Linked DNA regions of Homo sapiens: all the other regions are linked to region 1. Evidence: promoter capture Hi-C in 16 types of primary human blood cells and fetal thymus (Javierre and others, 2016). All regions are on one chromosome and are shown on one strand. The core of a region is centred on a gene start or on the middle of the fragment in contact, and the rest is flanking DNA. Distances in the headings are between cores, read along the strand shown.

Region 1 (2,509 bases), core at 6-2,505:
TACAAAAAAAAACTTCAGGAGATCTCAAATGGCCTCCAGCAAACCCTGAGAAAAAGCAGTTATAAAGTTTGTTTCCAAAGGCAACGACCTCTTATCCACTGTAATCTCAGTTAAGAGTGGTTCCTATCACTAAAGTCCCTTCAGCCCTTCAGCTCTGACAAACCACCTTCAAAATGGTCACACAGAAGTGCACTGCACCCTTGTATTCAAGTTCACCTAGACCCTTAATAGAAATGCTGACCTGGGGCACTACTCCACACCTGCTGAATCAGAATCTGCAACGTAGCAGGATCCCCAGGCGACTCCCATGCGTCTTAAGCAGCGCTTACTGATGGCTGCGCCATCAGGGCAAAACTGGAAGTTCCGGGGCTGTCCTAACCCCAGCAGGTCCTTTGCTCAAGAGCCTGGGGAGTCACTGGCTACTGCTGTTTTCCCTTCTTCTGGACCCAACCCGAGCCCCGCTCCGCGCGAGTAAAGCTCTGAAGATGTGTGTCAGGGCGAGACTCCTGGCCTGGCACACGGTCCTCGCCCCACCAGCCCCAGCCCGGGCCGACCTCTCACCTGCTCCTCCAGCGGGAGCGGCTTGAGAGGACTCCGAGCCCCGTGTCGAAACACGACCTGCACCATTTTCAACTTCAGCAGGCTGCGGTCGACCGGACACTGGCCATCGGCCTCCTGCAGCTCGGCCAGGGCCACCCGCCGCTGGTGCAGGCAGTACGCCAGCGAGGTCAGGACGCCCACTGGGGTCCACAAGCGCATGCTGAACACACCAGTGATCATGGTGGTAGGCCCTCGCTGCCCTCCGGGTTGAGGCTGCAGGAGGCAAACACAAGTCTTCTGCGGGCGCCGGGGCTCAGCGGGCGCCCCCAAGTCCGCGGGAACCTGCGGATGCGTACATCCAGCCCTTCAGCAAGCAGGGACCGCTGTGCCTCCCGGCCCTGAGGGAGACCCCGAGTGGGAACGGGGGAGAGAACAAGAGGTGGCAGCAGCGAAGAGTCCCTGGGAGTTTTAACCCGGGTCGGGGTTGGTCGCTCCTGCTGCACACCGGGCCGGGGGAGATCGGATCCTTATCTTTTGCCCGACGAGGAACATTAAACTTGTATTTCAAGTTTGGCCTCCAGCACTCTTGAAGGAACAGGAGCCGGCCCTGAGTTCCCTGGCGGCAGCGGCTCCACCAGCAAGGACTACTCGATTCCACTTTTCTATAAGCAAGCTCCTACCCACCTCCTCACCTACTCAGGGACCCGTCCCAAGTGGACCCGCGCACAGGAGCACGGGAAAACGAGTCCTGTGGTGACACCTCGCCTGGAGACTCAGAGCTGCGGAAACTACAACTCCCACAAGGCTGCGCGTACCGCGGCTCCCAAGAAGTGGCTTGTACCCGCCCCCCTCGCCTGCGGGCCTCGCCCCTCCGGCCCAGCCAGCCGTTTTCCAGGCGTGGATGGCCCACGGACGTGCCTGGTCCGGCAGTGGAGTGGTAGTGAATCTGTCGGGCCATGGAGTTTGCCAGGCAGGAGGATCGCGAGCGCAGGAGTAGAACTGGGTGGTGGAGGGGAGTAGTTTGAGTCTAGTTTTGAATGTAGAAGACTTCCTTCCAGTCCTGGAAGCCTGGTTGCTGCAGCGAGGAGCTGAGACACCTGCCGAGTGATTGCCATTTGCGAAACACAGCACTAGGTGCTTTATATTTAGTCATTTACTACTCCCTTCTCTGTTTTTAAAAAAATTCTCAAGCTTAAGTCATTGTAATCATGTAGAACTTTCAGGTCACTGATGTGTTTACTTCCATCCAGAATACTTCTTGTGGAAAAAGCCAGGCCTTGCCTGTGGGTGTCCCAGTGATTAAGAACCTAAGAGGCGCCATGGCTCACGCCTGTAATCCCAGCACTTTGGGAGGCCGAGGCGGGTAGATCATGAGGTCAGGAGATCGAGACCATCCTGGCTAACACGGTGAAACCACGTCTCTACTAAAAATACAAAAAAAAAAAAAAAAAAAAATTAGCCAGGCGTGGTGGCGGGCACCTGTAGTCCCAGCTACTCAGGAGGCTGAGGCAGGAGAATGGCGTGAACCCGGGAGGCGGAGCTTGCAGTGAGCCGAGATCGCGCCACACGACTCCAGCTTGGGCAACAGCGCAAGACTCCGTCTACAAAAAAAAAACAAAAAAAAACCTAAGAACACAGAACAATGCCAGCCTTACCACCTGCTAGTCTGGTTTCTGTTGATATACAGGTATCCCAAGCCTGTGTTTCCAGATCTTTGCAACAGGACACAATCTGGGACCCACTATGTGTCTATCTCCAAAGATCAAACTGGGCCAGATGTAAAGACAACATACTTACAGAGCATGGCTCCTGGCCTGAGAACAAATTCTGTTCACCAAGCTGGAAGGTTCTGAGTGCTCCCCTCCCTGATGCAGGGAGGAGGGTCATTTTGGAACACTACATATTGTCACAATTTTCTCCCTAGCCCAGCCAAGGGACTCACTTTTCAGAGTCTTATTGTGTGTGCTGA
Region 2 (2,509 bases), core at 6-2,505, 230 kb after region 1:
AACTTAATCAATTGGGTACTACGAGTAGAGGAGTATCTTCTTTGTTAACAGCGTAAGAAAACAAAGAAAGTGCTAAATTGAAAAGCTAGATTTGTCTAAATCCGAGAGACTATAACTGGTTCAGAGCCTTGTTGACAGCCCCGTTTTTCTGGATTCAAATGCATCCTCTACTACCATCTCTCACAAAATGATGATGAGCGATGACACCACCCACTACATTAGCCAAGTTGGACTGGGAAGCCTTGGATAGGGAGAACTTCATTTTAAAGAGAAGCTTTGTAGATTCTTTTCTCTTCATAGGACTATATCAGGGAGAGCGCAAGCTTCAGGAATCAGCATGTACTGAATATTCCCAAAGAAAGAATGATTGGATTTTTTCCCCTCATCCTCTGACTTCTTACCTTATTGATATTGCAGGGATCAGCCTTGACCATCTATTTTTAACTGAAGGATTTGCTATAGGGCATTGTCCCAGTCAGTGTGGGCCCTCAAACTTGGGAGTTCAAAAGAAATCAGACATCTAAAGTAAACAAGGTTTTGGGCTAGTGACCATTTTATTTAAAATGGAATTGGGGACTCACACAACATTGGTACCATCCTCCTTCAAACTGCCCCCATCAAAATGCAATATGTCCATGACACCAGAAAGGACAGGAAGGGGGGGTGGGGTGGTGAAGCCAGTGCTTAGATTTTTTTTGTCTAGTTTGCCCTCCAAGTTGTCTTCAATTTAGTAATCATACATTGCAGATTTCATAAAACAATCTAAGTTTCAACTATTTTTGCTCCATTGTTTTCACGAATAAACTTGTAGGATAAAATGCCCCTATTTTTGGTTTGGAAATGTAGTCAAAATAACCATTTTTTATACTACCAATAGTCAGTCCCAGATGATGGGACGGGAGTGGGCCTCAGAGAGCATATGTCCATGCCCTCCAAGCATCATTCCTCATTAAGCCACATTAGAATTTAATCCAAGAGCCTCCTGGTGAGCAAAACCATCATATCCCCATTTAACAGATGAAGGCACTAAAGTCTAAAAATGTTAGCTGACATTGATTGAACTTCCGCTACTCAAAAGTATATGTAATTATAAGTGAAACGTGGTGAGAAAGGCTATTACTTTGACAAATGGCACCAGAATTCTTTGGAGTGTTAAGGCTCCTTTCAAAGAGGGAGACCACCCTGCTGAAGGTTTGTTTGTGTTTCTTTTTTATTGTTTTGATCTTTTTAGAAAGCTCTTTCCTTTTATGTTTAGTTGACACATAATAATTGTACGTATTTGTGATACACAGTGATATTTCAATACATGTATACAATGTGTAATGATCAAATCAGGATAATTAGCATATTCAGCATCTCAAACATTTATCATTTCTTTCTGTTGGGAACAATCAAAATCCTCTCCTCTAGCTTTTTGAGACTATACAATAAAATAGTTAACGGCCAGGCATGGTCGCTCATGCTTGTAATCCCAGCATTTGGGGAGGCCAAGGCGGGCAGATCGCCTGAGGTCAGGAGTCTGAGGCCAGCCTGGCCAACATGGTGAAACCCCGTCTCTACTAAAAATAGAAAAAAAAAAATTAGCTGGGCGTGGTTGTGGGTGTCTGTTATCCCAGCTACTCAGGAGGCTGAGGCAGGAGAATAACTTGAACCTGAGAGGCAGAGGTTGCAGTGAGCTAAGATCGTGACATTGCACTCCAGCCTGGGTGGCAGAGCGAGACTCTGTCTCACACACACACAAAAATATAAAAATTAAAATAATTAATTAATTAATGTTAACCATATTCACCCTACAGCACTGCAGACCACCAGAACCCATTCCCCCTATCTAGCTGTGCTTTTGTATCTATTAGCAACATGCTCCCCATCCTTCCTTCCGCCACTACACTTCCCAGCCTCTAATATCCACAATTCTGCTGAAGGCTTTGAGAGACAAGAGCAAACCACCAATAAAAAATGAAATATGGTCCTTTGGAAAGGACCAACCACTCTTGGTGTGACTCAGGGCAGAGGGATTCACACAACTGACCACTTACTGTCCCTACATCATTAAGATTCTCCCAGCTGATGATAAGGCCTTGGGAAAATGCCCCTAGGCTCATGCGCTCTGGAGAGACGCCAAAGGTTTACTGATGTACAGGCCCAGTCTGCTGCTAAAAGAAACTTTGGGAGGCACAGAAGCCCCAGCTAAGCTTTCACACATCAGCTTTCCCCATCCTCCTCCCCTCAGTGCCCAACACAGCTCTCCCATTCTCTCACTCCCATTGTTTCCCAAACATCCCTCCCTTCATAAAAGCTGTCTGGCTGGGAGCTTAAAATATTGCTGGACAGTAAAACCTACCCATCAGGGCCAATCCAGTCATATCTGCTCAGTCGTGCAGCACAGTAGGGGCGGGGTAGAGAAGTGGGAGGTGGGCTTTTAGGCAGCAAAGGAAAGAGACGAAAGTTGCCATTTTGCTGCTGAGCGCCAAGAGAGAAAGAGCACATATTTCTCCGTGGGACACTCCTT
Region 3 (2,509 bases), core at 5-2,504, 210 kb after region 1:
AATTTGTCTTTGGAAGCAGCGAAGTGGAGGGTAAGTCCCAGCATCCCTAATGTTTTTCTGGACCTATCTACTTGAATTGGGCCAAGTGGGTACCACTAACCAGGAGATGTTTGGAATCACTGCTCTTTCCCTGGAAATCCCAACAACAGGACCCAGAAGCATCCCCATCAATATTTAGGCTAGAGCAGACAACTACTATCAGGAGTTGCCAAAACATAGCCAGGTGGTAATGAATTTAGATGGGAGTTCCCTGCTGGCTAGCTGTGCTGGCCAGCCCCAGTTATTTTATTAACCTAATTAATTTGACCCCTCATTCTTTATTTATTATGACTTTTGGATAATATTTAATCAAAGAACAGCAAAATTTTATTAATATGAATTTTAATTAATATGCCCTCAAGGAACTTGCATTTTATTGGAGAAGCCAGCCAGGTTAACCAATAACTACCATGCAATTTAATAAAGTCCATAATAGAGGTATGGACCAAATGGTACCATCCCAACCAAACAAGAGGATCATTAACTGTTTTTCTTTTTTCATGTTTTTCAAGAGACCATAGTGATCATCTTCATTGTAAACACGTTTGAGTGTTGAACAGGTCAAGAATGATGGGTTTTATATCTTTGTGGCAGCAACAAATGAATGTGTTAAAACAAATAATACAAATGAAACAACCACCATCCCCTCCTGCAGTATGATTTTCTTTCATTGATTCTATTCAGTGTTACTGTTATTGTGGTTATTATTTCAGTCATTCTTGAGTTAAAGCTAGAACCACATAAAGTCGATTCTTAAACTAAACTAATTAACTCTTAAGCAGGTATAAACGTGAACTCCATTTGACTATGCCAATAGAAAAATAGACCAGTTAGTTTAAGGACACTATGAAAATCATTAAACTTAAAACTAACATGGTGTGGGGCAGGGGAGAACAATCCCTCTGAGACCAGTGCTTTTTAAATTTCCAAGAATAGAAGAAGTGATAACAAGAAAAATCATACAGTTGGAAGCTTAGCATTTTACAAGGCAGCTAGAGAGGACCCAGAGGAGAAGCCTATCCAAGATTGATCTCTGTAATGGTTAATTTTATATGTCAACTTGATTGTGCTAAGGGATGCCCATTTAACTGATAAAACATTATTTTCAGGTGTGTCTATTAGGATGTTGTAGCAAAAGATTATAATTTAAATCAATATGCTGAGTAAAGAAGATTCATTTCCCCCAGTATGGGTGAGCATCTTCTAATCTATTAAAGGCCCAAATAGAACAAAAAGCAGGAGAAAGGGTAAATTCTCTCTCTCTTCTTGAGCTGGGATACCCATCTTCTCCTGCTCTCAGAAATTGGAGCTCCTAGTTCGCAGGCCTACAGACTTCAGGATTTACTCCAGTGCCTTCCCCACCAACTCCCCATCCCACCAGCTCTCAGCTTTGAACCAGGAGTTACACCATCGATTCCCCTGGTTCTCAGGCCTTCAGACTTGAACTGAATCGCATCACAAGCTTTCCTGGTTCTCCAGCTTGCAGATGGCATATTGTGGGACTTCTTGGCCTCCATAATCACGTGAGCCAAATCCCATAACAAATCTCTTATATGCCTATATATATATCAGATTGGTTCTGTTTCTCTGGAGAACCCTCACTAATACAATCTCATGTGGACAATACAAGTTAAAGGAAGACGGAAGACCAAAATCCCTGGGCATGCATCTTCTCAATGTCCTTACCTTGCTCTCACTGCCCAGTTCTTTCACTGCCTCTTCTTCCAATCTACTTGAACAGTTAACCAAACAGCAGCTAACTGGTCTGGTCAGCTGGTTGTGATCATTCCGACCCTGGGAATGATTGCAGTAGGGTCTCAAAAATACAATGTACAGGCAAAAGTTTACAGCAGGAAGCATGAAAGGAACTGGATTACGTATAAACCATGAAACATATCTGCCAGGTCCTCTTCCTTAAAAAGGATGGATCTAATTATACAGGGGATCACAAAGGGGGCAGAATTTGTAGGAATGACCCCCCCAGAGTTTCACATTACCAAGACTAAGGGAAAAGTTTTAGGGAGAACTTTGGTGTCTCTAAACAGAAATAACTCCAGCTTGGCAATGAGATATGCGTCTCTTTTCTCTACGATCTTCTGGGTCTTGGTCCCTTTCATGCACTTTCATATTTGCCAGTTATGTGTCTCAGTTTATTTTATCCAAGCCCTCCATCAACTGATTATATTTCATCTCTAATTTTAACAGGCATGTGAAAGTACAGGATCTTCCACCCCCATCTCAGAGCAGACATCTTATTTCCTAGACTTTCATTTCAAGGCCAACCCAATAAAAGACATTGAACTTAAAATGTTATAAAATATGCTTCCACTAATCCCCAATTTAAAGCTCAGTTGTAGACTCTTTCCTCCCCCCAACCCCATTTCTTTAGTAAGAGAAAGTAAGTAATGTTACCAAACTCTTGAAGTCCAGCTGCTGTCTCTAACTCTAACCAAAAGACACGTACCATGTA
Region 4 (2,509 bases), core at 3-2,502, 200 kb before region 1:
GTCTTGAATGTGTTTGTTAATTTTCTGCCTATTACAGTCAATACACTCAATGATCTGTCTAATACTGTCAGTGGAGTGTTGAAGTCTCCCACTGATACTGTGTTGAAGTCTATGTCTCTTCGTAGGTCTCTAAGAACTTCCTTTATGAATCCAGGTGCTCCTGTGTTGGGTGCATATGTATTTAGAATAGTTAGATCTTCTCGTTGAATTGAACCCTTTACCATTATGTAATGTCCTTGTCTTTTTTTCATCTTTGTTGATTTGAAGTCTGTTTTGCCTGAAATTAGGATTACAACCTTTAATCAAATTACAACCTTAGTAATCAAATTACAACCTTACTAAGCAAATGATTTCCTCCATCCTTCAATTTTGAGCCTATGGGTGTCATTTCGTGTGAAATGTGTCTCTTGAAGACAGCATACCATTGGGTTTTGCTTTTTTATCCAGGTTGCCACTCTGTGCCTTTTAAGTGGGGGCGGTTAGCTCATTTACATTGAAGGTTATTACTGACAGATGTGAATCTGATCCTGTCATTGTGTTGTTAGCTGGTTATTGTGTTGACTTGTTTGTGTGGTTGCTTTACAGTGACGTTGGTCTATGTGTTTAAGACTGTTTTTGTATTAGTTGGTAGCAATCTTTCCTTCCTATGTTAAATGCTCCTTTCAAAATCTCTTGTAATGCAGGTCTGGTGGTAATGAACTTTTTCAACATATGCTTATCTGAAAAGGATATTTCTCCTTTGCTTAGGAAGCTTAGTTTGGCTAGACATGAAATTTTTGGTTGAAGATTTTTTTCTTTAAAAATGTTGAATATAGGCTCCCCAATCTTGTCTGGCTTACAGGGCTTTAGCTGAAAGATCTACTGTTAGCCTGATAGTGTTCTCTTTGTTGGTAACTTGCCCTTTCTCTCTAGCTGCCTTTAACATTCTTTCTGGCATTTTAATCTTGGAAAATCTGACAATTATGTGTCTTCGAGATAATCTTGTATAGAGTCTTGCAGAAATTCTCTGTATTTCCTGAATCTGACTATTGGCCTCTCTAGCAAGGTTGGGGAAGTTTTCGTGAATGATATCCTGAAATGTTTTCCAAGTTATTTGCTTTCTCCCTCTCCTTTTCAGGGATGCCAATGATTTGTGTAGATCTGGCCTCTTTACGTAATCCCATACTTCTTAGAGGGTTTGTTCTTTCATTTTTATTCCTTTTTCTTTATTTTTGTCTGTCTTACTTCAGAGAACTAGTCTTCAAATTCTGAGATTCTTTCTTCAGTTTGGTTTATTCTGCTGTTAATACTTGTGACTGCATTGTGAAATTATTGCATTGTGTTGATCAGCTCTGTCAGACCTGTTAGGTTCTTTTTTATACCACCTACTTCGTCCTTCAGCTCCTATATTGCTTTATTGTGATTCTTATTTTCCTTGGATTGGGTTTCGCTGTTCTCCTGAATCTCAATGATCTTCATTCCTATCCATATTCTAAATTTTATTTGTTATCCCAGCCAGTTCTTATTGGAGAACTGGTACAGTCATTTTGAGGCCATACAAAACTCTGGTCATTTGAGTTACCAGAGTTCTTGCATTCGTTCTTTCTCATTTCTGCATATGGGTGTTCCTTTAACTGTAGTATAGATTGATTACAGTCAATAGACTTCTGGATGTTTTCACCTGGCTGAGGCCTTGTGCAGGGTCTCTATCTGAAGCTGATTTCTTGTCTCTGGTTTCACAGGGGGGTATGTTAGTGAGGCATTTTTTTAAGTTGAAGCTTTGTGGTGTGATCCAGTAGGTGGCATTTAGGCTTACGGGTCAGTTGGTAGACTCACTCAGTTGTGTAGCTCCCCTATGGTTCCCCACAGTGGCAGCTATATTTCCTCTCAATCCTCTGGGAACGTGGCTTCCTCTCCCCCTTAAGTGCTGACTGTAGATCACGGCTTGTCACTCCTGGACTGCCCACTGTAGCTCTGGGATGATCTCAGCATTTATGATTCTTCCCCATCTCAGAGGCAGCAGAGGAAGGGACCTTAGTAGTGGTTTTGACCAAGGGTCTTTTGCTTGTCTCCTGAGGGCTCCACCCGAAAGATGGAAGATGGACTGACCTCCTCTTCTTAAACTGACTGCAGCCTGTTGGAGGTATGGATAAAGCACTTAAAGCCTTTGTTCCTTCATTAGTCTGAGGGCAGCAAGGGCAGTTCTACTGCAGAGGCAGTGGCAGGGAAGCTTTCAGTTGCCCCTGGAGGCTCTGTCCAGGGAGTTGCTGAGTTGCTACTGGCTCAATAGCTCTGGCAGTGGGTGGCTGGAAGCCCTGGAGAACCTGCCCAGTGAGGAGATGTGGGAATAGGCACCCATTTGTTCTGGCCAGTTTTCCATAGGGCTGCTGTGGTATGCTGGGGTCCCTCTGCAGTTCCTAGTTGCCTTGAATTTTCCAGTAAGTGGAGATATCATCAGTAAAGGCTGCAATACAGCAAAGACAGTAGCCTGCCCCTCCCTCTGGAAGCTCCATCCCAGGAAGGTATGGGC
Region 5 (2,509 bases), core at 7-2,506, 160 kb before region 1:
CACTATGTGACAACAGAGTTCACTGGCTGTGTGTCCTCAGCCTAACTACCGAACTCGTCTGAAAATCCATTTCTCCCAAAATTACTATCTCCAGGTCTTCTCATCTCAGACCATGCTCCTGAAACATACCTTGCAAAGGTCATCAATGTCCTACCTACAGCCAAATCCAATAGACTGTTTTCAGCCTTTTTATTTTGACCTCAGTACATTTGTCTTTATTTATGTATTTATTTTTTGCAGAGACAAGGTCTCACTTTGTTGCCCAGGCTGGCCTTGAACTCCTGGGCTCAAGAGATCCTGCCATCTCAAGTCTCCCAAAGTGCTGGGATTACAGGCGTGACCCACTTCACCTGGCCCATTTGTCCTTATTGACCAGTTTTTTCTTGTCTCAACACTCTTCCCTCATGCCATCAACTTCATCTCATGTTCTTCTGAGTACTCTACTTGTTTTTTTTCATTGTTATCATTCTTCTTACTAAAACATGAGCTAACCTTAATTGATGCTTACTATGTGCCAGAATTGCGATAAACTTTCTAGGTACTGCTCCGTAAGGTAGGTGCTATTACTGTCCTTGTTAGAGATGAAAAGACCATGGCTCAGAGAGGTGACCTAACTTGCCCAGAGACATATGGCCAGAATATACTCTCTCAACAGAACAACATGCTTCTTCAACTCCTTTATGGGTTCTCCTTCTCTTCTTTTTACTTTTGAAGTTCCTTGGAGCTCTATCCTGGGCCTGTTTCTCCTCTGTCTACTCTCCCTGGCAATCTCAGCTACTTCTTTGTCTTTAATAACCAACCATGTAGCAATAGTTCCATATTGCCATCTTCAGCCCATGCTCCTCTCCTGAGATCCAGATCTTTGTCTTCAACTACTTACTGGACAGTGTGATACATGATGTTTCCGACATGACATGTCTTAAACTGCATTAGTCAACTCTCCCTCAAAACCTGCTTTTCCTCTCAGGCTTCCTACCTCAGTAAAGTCATCCACCCACTGCCATCCACCAACTGCCATCCGCCAACTGCCCAAGTGAGAAAGCTCAATGTCGTCTTCTTTACCTCTCATTCATCCTTCTTAACATGGCTTCCAAGACCCTTCAAGACTTGGTTCCTTCCTCTTTCCAGTTTCATTTCTTCCGATTCATCCCCTGACATTCTTCATCCAGCTGTGATCACCAAAGTGTGGGTCCTAGAGTAAGGCAAATTCACTTGCTTGCTTTCTCTGATTTTCTCTGACCTTCTCGTGTCTGGGTCTGCAATAAATTGTACCTCTAGCTGTAACATGCTTCCATCTCTTACCCCTCACCTAAGCTCATCTTTATTTACTAGGTCTCATCTTAAATGTCACTTCTTTTGAAAATACTTGCCTAGACCACCTCAGATCTTCCTGCTGGCTGTGCCCAGCTACCCTTACCGAAGCATAATCCTGTCAATGGCAATTACTTTTCAACTGTTGATATAGTCTTGTCTATTGTAGTATCTCCAGTATCCAGCACAGTGCCTTGTGCATAAAAGGCTCTCAAAATATGTTGAGCAAATGAATGAATTATAAAATAGAGTTAGCTAAAACTACTTCTCAGTAACATTAGGTAACTGTGGAAATTATGAGATAATATGTGTGATTATACTTTGTAAACTGTAAAATTCTAGAACAAACTCCATAGTGATAAAAAGAATTATGCATGGTTGATCTCCCACACTTTTCCAGATTCTTCATCCCCTTTCTGGACCCACTATCTCCTCAATAGCCAAGAGATCTTGATGTATCAAAGTCCCATAAGGGGACTCCAGCTGAGATTCCCCCCAGGTTCTCTCACTTTGAGGCTTCTTTCTGACCCAGGAGCTACTTAGGTAAGTTGTCTTCCATATCATCTCTGTCAGTTCCATGCTGAACTTGGCTCAATCAGCAGCTACTGACAAAACCACTCTTCCATACCTATACCTCTGCTCTGGCCCAATCCAATTTGGTTCTTTAAGCTGATTCTCCCCACTCACTTTACCCTCTAATCTGCCAGGACACTTAGTGACTGAGGATTAGACTTTTCACTGAGGATTAGTGTCTTGCCCTACCACCCCAATGGTCCCTCTTGCTTTCACTTGCTACAGAAACTTTACGAGAGAAGGACATCCTAACCTAAGGTTCTCCTGGCCATAGAGAAGCTAATTTGGAGAAGATTACGATGTTGATACATTTTTAAAGCAAACCCTCAATGAGTTGATTACTGAGTGAGGGAAGCTGATGTGGGTATGAGAAAAGGGAGACAAGGAGAAACAAGGAGTATCTGTGAGGGTATGAGAGTTGTTGGGGGAGGAGGAGCATGAATTCGATCCTCCCTGGTGATGCACTGTTTCCTCAGTGATAGCCCGTCTCTCCAACAGCAGGGTAACTTCTCTGGCTGGCTCCCAGAGAATGGGTGTCCCATTCTCAACCAGCATCACCTAAGACACACTTGGATACAGGGTTGCTTATCCAGAACCATCCCTGAGTTTAGAGGCCCAAATCGGG
Region 6 (2,509 bases), core at 7-2,506, 140 kb before region 1:
GCTTCCAATCATAACACATTGAGCCTTCTGCAAGGTCCCTGTGTAACTTAACTGTAGAGGCACAGTAGAAAGCCCACTCCAAAAACCATCCTCTGTTCCTGCCTAATGAATCCCTGGTATACGCTGTCAGAATTTAAGAGGCAGGTGTCGCTCCCCTGACGCTTTGAATAGGAACTTGTTCAAATCGTGTATCCTCTCTAGGAACAGTTTTTCAAGAGTGGTTTATAATTTTTCATCTGCAGCAGTAGTGAGGGGGTGGATTCAGAGGAAGAAGGAGGAAGTACTGACGGGGGAGGCAGGAAAAGAAATGCCATCCTGGATCAGAGCTGTGAACGTCAAAGGAGAGGGGTGATCCTCACCTCTGGAGATGAGAGACTGGAAGAGAATGCCTGTGAAGGTAAAGGAAAGAAAGAACTTAGATGTGGTAGGTGGAGCCTTCTCTATGGAGAGACACAGAAGAGGTTTCTATTTCCCCAGATGATAGCTAGTAGTCAAGGCTTCCTGCCCTCACCATCATCCTCTGCAGGCATCTCCACGTCAACCAGGCCAGGCCGCTCCTCTTTCTGCCCCACTCAGCACCCTCCCTCCACCTTTTCTCTAGCTTATGCAACCCAATATCTATACATTTGTTCATCTGGTTTACTCTTTCTTGATCACTCTCTACCCTTTGCTCTACTCCACTGATCAGAATCAAATTTAAGTGCCAAATGCCCTATAAGTCTGACCTGAAACTCCAGCCTACAGTGGTTCTTATTGCCTGTACCAGCAGTTCTCAAACCCTAGCATGCATCAGAATCACTCAGGGGGCATTTGAAAACACAGGTTTCCAGGACTCTCAGAGTTTCTGATTCAGTAGGTCTGGGCCACGGCCTGAGAATTTACCTTGCTAACAAGTTCCCAAATGACTCTTGCTGATGCTTCTTGTTTGGGAACCACTAACCTGTACCATTCGTTTAGCCTTAATCATGCACTGCCCTGTGCTGATACTGTAACTGAGTATCCAGATGCAGCTGTGAACATATCAAAGGCAGTTATGTTGTAGGTACTGGGCTGTATCTCCCACAGGACTTAGCTAGCATACTCAGAGCAGGTACCCAAACCCAATATAATTTATTAATTGTTGTGAAAACTTAGTATTGGTTTTAGGTAAAATTAGGAAGACAGTAGATTGTCCACAGGAAGCTTCCACTTTCCCTCCTTCATTTCTCAACCAACTTCTGTGTCACTCACTCTTCCTCCTCCAAGCGACCCAGGCTCCCCTAAACATAGGCTTGTCCTAAATACCCAGAGCTCTCCCATTTGCCCCTCAAAGTTTACAGGCAAATCTCAGAGAAGCTTGACTGAGGCCGGACGTGGTGGCTTATGCCTGTAACCCCAGCACTTTGGGAGGCCGAGGCGGGTAGATCATAAGGTCAGGAGTCCAAGAGCAGCCTGGCCAACATGGTGAAACCTCATCTCTACTAAAAATACAAAAAAATTAGCTGGGCATGGTGGCGGGCACCTGTAGTCGCAGCTACTTGGGAGGTTGAGGCAGGAGAACCACTTGAATCAGGAGGGGGAGGTTGCAGTGAGCCGACATTGCACCACTGCACTCCAGCCTGGGCGACAGACCAAGAATCTGTCTCAAAAAAAAAGAAAAAAAGAAGCTTGACTGAGAAGTTAAGAGACAGCTGAGTGTATGAGCTTATTTAAATACTGATGGAGAGAGGCGCGCAGTGGTGCCAGTGTGGGAAAGAGAGGGAATAATGGCAGGTGGGATCCACAGTGCAAGGAGAAGGATTCGCTTAGACAGGAGCAGGGACACCTCTCCCACTGTAGATGGAAAAAGGAAAAGATAGGTTTAGATGCAAGAATAATGAGGCTTTAGATGCTAGGTGACTCCCAGCTCTAACATCTTGTGATTCCATGAAATTAAATTGCCACGGTGTCAGTGGCTTAATATGTCACCTCTCCCTGGCAGAGCTTTAACCCAAGGAAATGAATGTTTCATGAGAGGCTCTTAGGCTATGGGAGGCCTGCCAGTGGGACAGCAGGGCCTTCCCAGTGGTCTTGAATACCTGTTGCCCTGCTAGGCAAGGTGGGATTGGGAAAATGGGATAAATATATCCAACTGTGACAACGTAAGAACTACAGCAAGGCCACAGAGCTAATACATTCTGGAACCAGATTTAGAACTCTGTGTCACTCAAGCCCGCAGTCATCTGGTCCACCCAGTCATATTCTGACCACCTGAAATTGCAAGGGAGGGCTGGAAGTATTAGGAACAACTTCTTCCTAACCCTTGGGCTAGAGACTTGAGATGACATGCTCCATCCCAGATCCACACAGCCCCAGCCTATCTCTGGGGCTCTAAGAAACACCTGATAGTGACAGGAATAATAACAACAATAATAATTTATCTAATGCCTCCTCAATTAAACTAGCATGTAAGGTGCCTGGTACATTGTGCCAAAATCTGGATCATAGGAAGAAGTCAACAAATGTAAGCTGTCATCCTCCTCCTCCTCCT
Region 7 (2,509 bases), core at 6-2,505, 140 kb after region 1:
CCACATCCTGTGGAAAGTTTAATGCCCTCCCCAAGATGTCTGCATTCTCTCAGAGCAGTTACTTTTTTGTGGCCTCCTCTGGTTCTGGAATTAGTTCTGTTGTTAGTGATCTCACCTTCCAGTGCGTGTAGCCCTCTTACCCAGTCCCTTGAGTGACAGTCCCTTGAAACCCAGTCCCTTTCCTTGATTTACTTATACACACATACATAGACACACACACACTACAATTTTACAAGGCCTTTGCTGACATTTTGAGAAAAATGAAGAAGGGAGGATTTACCCAGAAGCAATGGAAACAAATCAAAATTTAATATTAAAAAGTCTGTGTTCTTAACAGATTATTTCTTCCCTAACAGGAATTCTGATGCCAGCTACTAAGATAATAGTTGAGTTTTTATTTTTAATTATTATTCTGCTTCACCAAGAAATGTTACAGAAGAAGAGTGGCAGCTATAAATGACAGAGTAGGAGGTGGAGGACTAAGTGCAGAGGAGGAATGAAAGAAAGGAAACAAAAAAGAGGGTGTGGAGATGATTTTGAGGTTTAAAACATTGTCAAAGGAATGAAGAAAAACAGAAGTTAAGGAAATTCAACCAAGTCACATTGCACTGACTTGTATTTACTAAACTGATGTTTTGAAATTCAGGTCTGAGGCTGGTAGGAGGAAGGAGTTTGGAGAAAGGAGCCATGTAGAATGACACATGGAGGTTAGACCTCCAGCCAGAGAGGAACATGAAGCATCTGAATTCTAGCCTGAATATGCTCCTAACTTGCAGTATAATCTTATTTAACTCACTTCCTTTTCTGGAACACTCAGTTTCTTATCCGTACAGCAAGAAAGTCAGATTAGTGACCCTTTGCCATAAATTCCATCATCATCTGTTTATTTTTATTGTCTTTCTAAACTTATTATTAATAGCTGAAGGAGCCACAGGAAAGAGTTCAATAATTGTGAGTGGAGGGCAAGAGGGATATCAAAACTTCTGAAAATGAGTGGGATTGGAGATGTTAGACTAGTTGACTAGGACATTAGCTAAAATGTTGTACAGTTATTCTAATAGAGTTGTATTTTAATAGAGAAAGAAGATCTTTAGCAGAAACACATACTAACTGTTCTGAGACTCAGCTCTCCAAGAAGGCCTGGTAGGTGGGCCCACACCAACATGAACATTCCTCTCTGTTATTCTGGTGTCTCCTATCCCAACTTTGGACATAGTATCTAGAAAAGAAAAATACGCCCACTAAATTCTGTCTTGATAAACCTACCTTCCAAAGAAGAAGTGTTTCTCAAAGTGTGCGCAGTTGGTCCTAAAGATGCTCTGAAAATAAATGAAAAACAAAGGGGAACCCTTGTGGGAAACCAGCATATGCACCCCCCAACATGTGACTGTAGGAGACCAGAATATGTTACCCCAAAATATGACTATGGGGAACATAATATGCACCCCAAAGTATGACTATGGCAGAAAAGAATATCTACCCCCAAATATGCCTTTTTGGCATAAGGATTATTTTGAGCTGATTATTTTGAGAAACTTCAGACACAGGAGAAATTCTGAAAACAGAGTAGAAGTTACCCTTTTGTAAGGGAAATTTATACCCATAAGCCTCCATTTGTAAGGGCATCTTTCTCTCAGTATAAGGAAGAGAAGGCTGACTAAATAACAAGAGACTTATCAATGGAGAAGACACTGACTTTAATCTGCATAACCAATCTTACCCTTGTTTCCCATGCTTCTCCTGGGCATCTCCTCATAACCAGCCTTTCCCACACCTTTCTTTCTTTGTCTTAACAGATAATGGTATTTAAGTCTGTTCTGAGATTAACTCATTTCTCTGGGTATCTCCCAGAGATATACATGAGGTATACATGTTACTAAACTTCTGTTTCTTTTTCTTTTATTATTCTGTCTTTTTTTTTTTTTACAGGAGTCTTTCTTATCTAAAAACTATGAAGGATAGAGAGAAAAACATTTCCCCCCCACAACATGTACTTGCTTTGAGTCTTGCTGAACTTCCCACACATTCTGTGCTCATGGGACATTGTAGATGTTATATGTAAATAGGGTAACAGAAGGGCAGAGACACATATTCTCTCTGTTCGTGGACCTGCTCCGTTTTCCCATCAGATTCCACTTATCAAACAAAAGTTCAAAGATAAGATTAGGAATAATTTCAAGATGGTGAGAGCAGTGTACTAAGCCAAGTAAAGGGGTCTTCTGAGCACAGGGTCCTATGTGACTGCACATGTCTCTGCCCATGGAGCCAGCCCTGGAAAAGGGTTCATCAATCACATAAATGTCTCTCCCTCTGCTGGCCATTATTGTGCTGTATTTGGGAGATATGGCAGCCATCTTCCGACCACGAGGGGAACTAGCCTGAGGACACATCTGACATAAGGGAAGAAAGAAAGAATGGTGTCTCAGTTCATTTTGTGCTGCTGTAACAGAATATCAATTTGTGGGTAATTTATAAGGAACAGAAACTTCTTTCTCACAATTCTGAGGCT

What was found. The method cuts DNA at HindIII sites, captures the fragments that hold promoters and counts their contacts. A CHiCAGO score of 5 or more calls a contact.
Region 2: a contact is called between a fragment that was not itself captured here and the fragment with the promoter of ACP6 in region 1, in 12 of 17 cell types (M0 macrophages, total CD4 T cells, endothelial precursors and 9 more). The highest score is 10.9, in M0 macrophages.
Region 3: a fragment that was not itself captured here is called in contact with the fragment with the promoter of ACP6 in region 1 in 12 of 17 cell types (M0 macrophages, endothelial precursors, M2 macrophages and 9 more); the score reaches 13.9 in M0 macrophages.
Region 4: a fragment that was not itself captured here is called in contact with the fragment with the promoter of ACP6 in region 1 in 4 of 17 cell types (naive CD8 T cells, activated CD4 T cells, naive B cells and 1 more); the score reaches 7.1 in naive CD8 T cells.
Region 5: a contact is called between a fragment that was not itself captured here and the fragment with the promoter of ACP6 in region 1, in 11 of 17 cell types (naive CD8 T cells, fetal thymus, non-activated CD4 T cells and 8 more). The highest score is 13.4, in naive CD8 T cells.
Region 6: a contact is called between a fragment that was not itself captured here and the fragment with the promoter of ACP6 in region 1, in 8 of 17 cell types (total CD4 T cells, naive CD4 T cells, non-activated CD4 T cells and 5 more). The highest score is 14.3, in total CD4 T cells.
Region 7: a fragment that was not itself captured here is called in contact with the fragment with the promoter of ACP6 in region 1 in 1 of 17 cell types (total CD4 T cells); the score reaches 5.6 in total CD4 T cells.

What each region holds. Positions count from the first base shown.
Region 1 is chr1:147,669,269-147,671,777 of GRCh38, forward strand. It overlaps ACP6 (acid phosphatase 6, lysophosphatidic), which reads right to left and starts at 1,256. Exons shown (of 10, transcript NM_016361.5): 1 at 562-1,256. The coding sequence starts at 780. RefSeq lists enhancers at 104-1,047, 259-318, 959-1,208, 1,649-1,718. The HindIII fragment of the contact is 4,251 bases long and covers 1-1,729 here.
Region 2 is chr1:147,900,347-147,902,855 of GRCh38, forward strand. It overlaps GJA8 (gap junction protein alpha 8), which reads left to right and starts at 2,449. Exons shown (of 2, transcript NM_005267.5): 1 at 2,449-2,509. The HindIII fragment of the contact is 1,869 bases long and covers 322-2,190 here.
Region 3 is chr1:147,883,625-147,886,133 of GRCh38, forward strand. No RefSeq gene overlaps it. Among named protein-coding and RNA genes, the nearest start is that of GJA8, 18 kb to the right of the region's middle. The HindIII fragment of the contact is 490 bases long and covers 1,010-1,499 here.
Region 4 is chr1:147,466,304-147,468,812 of GRCh38, forward strand. All of the region lies in intron 3 of LINC00624 (long intergenic non-protein coding RNA 624), which reads right to left. Among named protein-coding and RNA genes, the nearest start is that of LINC00624, 50 kb to the right of the region's middle. The HindIII fragment of the contact is 1,006 bases long and covers 750-1,755 here.
Region 5 is chr1:147,506,560-147,509,068 of GRCh38, forward strand. All of the region lies in intron 3 of LINC00624 (long intergenic non-protein coding RNA 624), which reads right to left. Among named protein-coding and RNA genes, the nearest start is that of LINC00624, 10 kb to the right of the region's middle. The HindIII fragment of the contact is 5,017 bases long and covers 1-2,509 here.
Region 6 is chr1:147,527,877-147,530,385 of GRCh38, forward strand. No RefSeq gene overlaps it. Among named protein-coding and RNA genes, the nearest start is that of LINC00624, 11 kb to the left of the region's middle. The HindIII fragment of the contact is 153 bases long and covers 1,181-1,333 here.
Region 7 is chr1:147,813,322-147,815,830 of GRCh38, forward strand. No RefSeq gene overlaps it. Among named protein-coding and RNA genes, the nearest start is that of GJA5, 54 kb to the left of the region's middle. The HindIII fragment of the contact is 4,107 bases long and covers 1-2,509 here.